Regions from separate parts of the Homo sapiens genome. Here region 1 is linked to region 2. The links are contacts of gene promoters, found by promoter capture Hi-C in human tissues and cell types (Jung and others, 2019). All regions are on one chromosome and are shown on one strand. Each heading gives the region's core, a stretch centred on a gene start or on the middle of the fragment in contact. The rest is flanking DNA. Distances are from core to core; before and after follow the strand shown.

The links. The method cuts DNA at HindIII sites, captures the fragments that hold promoters and counts their contacts. A contact is called where the count stands out against the background at its distance.
Region 1: a contact is called between the fragment with the promoter of KRT74 here and a fragment that was not itself captured in region 2, in 2 of the 25 tissues and cell types used here (H1 embryonic stem cells and small bowel).

The regions. Positions count from the first base shown.
Region 1 is chr12:52,571,945-52,575,161 of GRCh38, forward strand. It overlaps KRT74 (keratin 74), which reads right to left and starts at 1,899. Exons shown (of 9, transcript NM_175053.4): 1 at 1,363-1,899; 2 at 509-723; 3 at 1-60. The coding sequence starts at 1,833. RefSeq lists an enhancer at 324-493. The HindIII fragment of the contact is 9,071 bases long and covers 1-3,217 here.
Region 2 is chr12:52,460,604-52,463,994 of GRCh38, forward strand. No RefSeq gene overlaps it. Among named protein-coding and RNA genes, the nearest start is that of KRT6B, 10 kb to the left of the region's middle. The HindIII fragment of the contact is 6,054 bases long and covers 1-3,391 here.

The DNA.
Region 1 (3,217 bases), core at 649-3,148, 110 kb after region 2:
TTCTTAAGCACCACAAACTCATTCTCTGCTGTCGTGCGCCGGTTAATCTCCACTTCATATCTGCCAGCAGGGAGAGTAGATGGCCTTAGCCCCCTTAGCCAAGGAACTTTCTCTTCCTGCTGGCCAGGCAAATGTTTGGGATACAGGGTCCCTGCAGGGTCTCTGGGGTGAGCAGTAAGAGGCTAGTGACAGGAGTAAGATATCCCTGAGTTGCTTCACTTGTCTCCTAGTTTTTGCATGTTAGGAAAACACCCAGGTGCCTATTGGGCTCCCGACACCAGCAACTGAACATTTCAGTGGGTCAAGGAGCACAGGAACCGCTTCCTATCAACTAGGCAGGAAGTTATCATCAAAGAGGATAGGCCCTTCCCCCTAGCCAGAGAAAGGGATGTGAGCTCCTGACCCTGGTGCATACTCCCCCATCTCCTAAAAAATAATGGCACAGAGATCAGGTGAGCCCAGAGGCACGGGAAACATGGTCTGTGACCCTCGGGTGGAGCCTGCTCACCTCTTCTTATAGTCCTCCACCAGATCCCTCATGCTTCTCAGCTCCGAGTCCAGCCTCACCCTGTCCCCAGACAGTGTCTCCAGCTGCTTCCGCAGGTTGCTGATGTAGCCCTCAAGGATGGGCTCCAGGTTCTTCTTGCAGTTGTTCAGGTCCAGCTGCTGCAGCAGCTCCCACTTGGTTTCTAGAACCTGGTTCTGCTGCTCTAGGAAGCGTACCTGGAACCCAAATCAACAGACACCTGGAACCACAATGGGTGCAGTCATGCCCCCTGGACACACACCATTGACTCCCCAGGTTTGCCATAGATTGTTGTAGTCATTTTTGCTCATGTCTTGACTCTCCACCCTTGCCATTCCACACAAACTAGATCCTTTACAAGTGCTCATTTCCTAGCCTTCTGGACAAGGCATCACTGAGAACTCACTCAAGGAGTTTCCACAGCTTTCTTCTATTGCTCGGCCCTGGTCCCAGGAGATGTCCTTCCTTATGTCTCAACTAAGTGTCTCTTCCTGTACCATGAGCCCTTCCCTCTGAACACTGCTGGATTCTATTAGCCTTTCATGTTCTTGGAAGATCCAGCTGTCCTCAAGAAACTCATCACTTTTTTGTCAAGGAAGGGCTGCTCTTTACCCAGCTTCCCATCCTTCCCTGCAAAATCGCCAAAGAAGCCGATATATTCATGTATTCCTTTGTCCTCCGTGGCTCACAGACCTACTCTCCTTCCCTAATGGTGAGGAAGCCCTTCCTGAGGCCCAGCTGCACCTTTCCAGCCACAGTGTGCAGTCCATTCCCAGGCAGCAGGAAAACTGCTCAGGCCTCAGGGTGCGGCCTCATCCTCCTCCTATGAGACCCACCTTGTCAATGAAGGAGGCGAACTTGTCGTTCAGCACCTTGATCTGTTCCCGCTCCTGGGCGCGCACCTTCTGGATCTCAGGGTCCAGCTCCACGTTGAGGGGGGCCAAGAGGCTCTTGTTGACAGTGACCTGGTGGATGCCCCCAGGTGGGCACACAGACAAACATGCAGGCCCCAGGGCCACACTGCCAAACATACTGCCAGCAAAGCCACTGGCCCGGCCCCCTCCATACCCAGAGCCAGGCCTGAAGCCGTAACCTCCAGCCCGAACGCCGCCACCAGCCACATTGAAAGAAATACGCCGATTCCCTCCAAGGCTATAGAGGCTCCGACTGCCAAAGCCAGCGCCAGCCCCTCTGCCAGCTGCACAGTAAGAAGCCAGGCTACCCACAGCCTTCCTTGGCACCACTGCCGAATGCACACTGAAGTTGCCCTTGTCACCACTGGACTTGATGTTCAGTTGCCGACTCATGGTGGGAAAGGTTGAGTTGACAGAGCTGGAGAAAAGCAGTCTCCAAGGGGTAGAGAACACACTGATGGGGCACCCAGAGTGCTGCCTCCTTTTATCCCTGTTGAGCCCAGGACACCGGAAAAGGGCGTCTCTCCACTATCTCCTTTCCCCTGCTGATGGGCCAGGGGCCATGGGCAATTTGTAGAACAGAGATCTCCAAGCCCTTTGCAGCAACAAAGCTCTTCTGATAGCAAGTGGAATATGCTGCCCTTGCAGAGTGGAGTGGTCTAATTTGGAGTTTATCTGTGCTCCCTAATTAAGGACCTGAAGAGTTATCCCCTGAAGAGATCTCCTAGCTTTATTTTTCCAGTGCTACCTCCTTCTTGCTTAACCATCAGCAAGGAGCAGGGGAAATGCCTGGCTTTCCCCAGAGTAGACTCACCTGAAAAACCCCAGGTTTCTTCCCAAAAGAAACCATCTCTCTATTATAGGGTCTTGTGTGGAAGCTGGAATTTTTACCTCAGGGAAAAGAAGACATGGAAAGATGATTCTTCTTGGAAAGATGTCCTCAAAGATCTGGATCTGGGTAAGAAGCTCCAGGGTCCGTCCTTGGGCCATGCTAAGGACCACAGCTGTCTAGCAGTGAAGTGGACCCCAGGAAGGAAGAGGAATGACTCTGCAGCATCTGCATGCCCCCCTAGCAGGGATATTGTCTAGGGCCTTCTGTGTTGGGCAGGGCCTGGGTGGTGGTGACCTTGACATTGCCTTACAACCATGAGAACCTTTCCAGTCAGCTGCATTTCCTCCAGTTGGATTTTCTCTCCTGGATAAGATTATTTGTCCTACTCTAGGAAGTCAGGCAGGAGCTGGGATATTAGCCCCTGCACTCCCTGGGGAAACACCCTATGGCTGAAGTCACCAAGGAACAGGACCCCCTGAGTTTCACTCCCAGGTTCAGGGTGGGCTGTTCTGCCAGTTTCCTGGCAACTTCAGGGAGCACTCAATTTTCAAACAGGAAGTATCACTGCTTTATAGCTCAGGTAGTGTGGGTACAGTGCAATGTTAAAAAATTATTTCAGGGCTGGGCATGGTGGCTCACACCTGTAATCCCAGCACTTTGGGAGGCCAAGGAGGGCAGATTGCCTGAGGTCAGGAGTTTGAGTCCAGCCTGGCTAACATGGTGAAACCCCGCCTCTACTAAAAATACAAAAATCAGCCGAGCGCAGTGGTGCATGCCTGTAGTCGCAGCTACTCAAAAGACTGAAGTAGAAGAATCACTTGAACCTGGGAGGCAGAGGTTGCAGTGAGCCTAGATTGTGCCACTGCACTCCAGCCTGGGCAACAGAGCAAGACTCTGTCTCCAAAAAACAAAAAAAATTATTTCAAAGCTAGGTATCTGGCAGCT
Region 2 (3,391 bases), core at 734-3,233:
AAAAAACTTCCTTACTTTCTGACATGGCAAGATGCTCCAGGATCATCTTTTATGTCTCCTGCCCTAGTCCTAAAATCAACAATTTCTCCAAGAGCCACTTGCTCCTAGTCAGGGTTCTTCAGATAAACTGAACCAATAGGAGATAAATATATAAAGAGATTTATTTTAAGGAATTCACTCATATAACTACGGAAAATGGCAAATCCAAAATCTGCAAAGCTGATGTGTCAGTTTGACTTTGAAGGCTGGAAGCTGCTGTAGAACCAGAGGGAGCTAATGTCCCAGTTTGAAGGCCATAAGGCAGGAGAGTTCTCTCCTACCAGAGGGAGGGTCAGTCAGGCTTTTGTTCTATTCAGGCCTTCAGCTGATTGAATAAGACCTACCCACAATAGGGAGGGCAATCTGCTTTACTCAGTCTATGGATTCAAATCTTAATCTCATCCAAAACATCCTCACAGAAATACTTAGAATAGTGTTCACCAAATATATGGGCACCTGTAGCCCAGTTAAGTTGACACATAAAATTAACCATCATGGTAACAGTGGGTAAGAGTGGGTAATAGCATTAGCAACCAAGATCTAGGTACAAGATGTGCTCACTGCTGCTGGTGTGTCACTGCTTCTGGGCCCTGTTAGGTGACAATAAATACATTTATATGTATTATTATATGTAACAATTTGTATCTATCTATTCAAGTCTCCAACTTGAATTCATTACCACATGGATCATTCTAGCATCTTCTCTTGCTTATCTACAACCTCACATAACAACAGCAAAAACCCTGGCTGCGACTATCTGCTATCCATTTACTTAATTGTTTTGTTCCTCAGTATGTATTGTGATGGGACCATATAACATGAATGGAACACATAACATCCATGGAAGTTGCCACATAAAATTAATCATCAGAACATATGTTGTGGAATAGAATTAAAATTAGAGGGAAGATGGATTGGAGACAGGGCTGACTTGCAGCTCCCACTTTGAAGAACAGAACATCATATGGAGACTCACACTGTGAACTTTTGCTCCAGGAACCACTGCAGAAGCATACCATGAAAACAGAAAGAAATCACAGATTTTTTGAAAAGAGAAGAAGGCCATTGCAAATTCCACAAGACAGATGAAGAACTCCAGTCACAAAAGACATAAACCGTTGAGAGCTTTATGACCCCAGCCATCACCTGAGAAACCTGAATACTTATCCTGGCCAACTTAGGGCAAGCTTATATTCCCCTTCTACTATCGCAGCTGGTGCTCTCTCAAAAGTGCCACCTCCTGGCTGGAGGCCAACCAACTCAGGACAGTACAGCAACTCAGGACAGAACAACCCTGCTCCAAAGAAGGAGAAAAAAACGGCTCATTCCACTGCCTGCAACATTCTGGTCTGTCGATGTGACAACTTCACTGCTAGCATAACCAGAATTTGAGAAAACCAGCACACTAAACATATCAACAACGAAAGACTCTCACAGAGTCTACTTCACACCCCTGCCACCTCCACCAGTCATAAAAAGAAATCAAATAATGGCATTCATAGCAGCCTGGCTAAAGTTGGAGACCATTATCCTAAGTGAAGTAACTCAGGAATGGAAAACCAGACATTGCGTGTTCTCACTTGTAAGCGGGAGCTAAGCTATGAGGACTCAAAGGCATACAAATGATATAATGAAGTCTGGGGACTTGGGGAGAAGGGTAGAAGTGGGGTGAGGGATAAAAGACTACACACTGGGTACATTGTACACTGCTTGGGTGATGAGTGCACCAGAGTCTCAGAAATCACCACTAAAGAACATTTCCATGCAACCAAACACCACCTGTTCCCCCAAAACTATTGAATTTTTTAAAAACACATCTTGCAGAATAGAAAAAAAAATTTAAATTATGGTGGAATATTTTTGTGGGAGTTCCCAGATATCTGGTAAAACATTTTTCAGGGTGAGGGTGTGTCTGTGAGTATGTTTCTGGATGAGATTAATATTTGAGTATATATACTGAGTAAAGCAAATTGCCTTACTTATGTGAGTGGGCCTCATTAAATTAGTTAAAGGGAAGAATAGAACAAACAGGTTAGTAAGAGAGAATTCCTTTTGCCTAATAGCATTTGAGCTGGGTTTTTTCTGCCTTTAGACTCAAACTAGAACATTTGCTTTCTTGGGTCTCCTGCTGGTCCACTGCAGATCTTGGGACTTGTCAGCCACCTAAACCACATCAACCAATTCTTTATAATCTCTCTCTCTCTCTAAATACATAGGTAAGTAGATTGATAGATGCAGATAGATAGATAGGTACAGATATATATATATATTTGTGTGTGTGTGTATATATATATGAGTGTGTATATATGTGTGTGTGTGTATATATATGTGTGTGTGTATATATATATGTGTGTGTGTATATATATATATATATATACCCTATAGTTTCCATTACTCTGGAGAACACTGACTAAAGCACAGGCATAGTGGTTTCAGAATTGTTAGTCATGCCACCATGGGAAGCAGCCTTATCAACTCAAGTACAATACTGACATACAGTTCTCACAAGTTTCTTTGCCTTTAGTCTCATAGACTCCACTCACTTGCAGAGTTCCTGATGTCAGCCTTTTTTCTTCCCATCCACTTCAGGGAGGTGATTTCACACATTTGTAATATAGTTAGATCCTTTTGCCACATTGTACATTCCATTCTAAGATCTTTCAATCTCATAAATCATTTTCTTTAATTTCAAACATTAAGGTTTACTCCACAGTATAAAATTCTATGAGCTTTCCCTAATAAAAATTCCACAGTATAAAGTTCTATGAGTTTTCCACCATAAAAAAATCCCAGCAAAGTACTTTGTGGATATCAACAAACTGATTCTAAAGTTTTTATGGCGAGGCAAAAGACCCAGAATAGCTAACACAATATTGAAGGAGAACAAAGTCAGAGGACTGCAAGCATCCTACTTTAAGACTTACTATGAAACTACAGTAACAAAGACACGGTGGTATTGGTGAAAGAATAGACAAATAGATCAAGGAACAAAACAGAGAGCCCAGAATTTGATCTACATAAATATAATCAACTGATCTTTGTCAAGGAAGCAAAGGCAATACAAAGTCAGCGTTTTCAACAATTGGTGCTGGAATAACTAGGTATCTACATGTAGAAAAACAAATTTAGATACGGGTCTTATATTCACCACAAAAATTAACTTAGAATGGATCATAACTCTAAATGTAAAATGCAAAACTGTAAAGCTCCTAGAAGATAACATAGGAGAAAGCCTTGATAACCTTAGGTATGACAATGACATTTTAGATACAATGCCAAAGTCAGGAACCATGAAAGATATAATTGATAACATGGACTTCATTAAAATTATTAATAAAACTTCTGCTCTGCA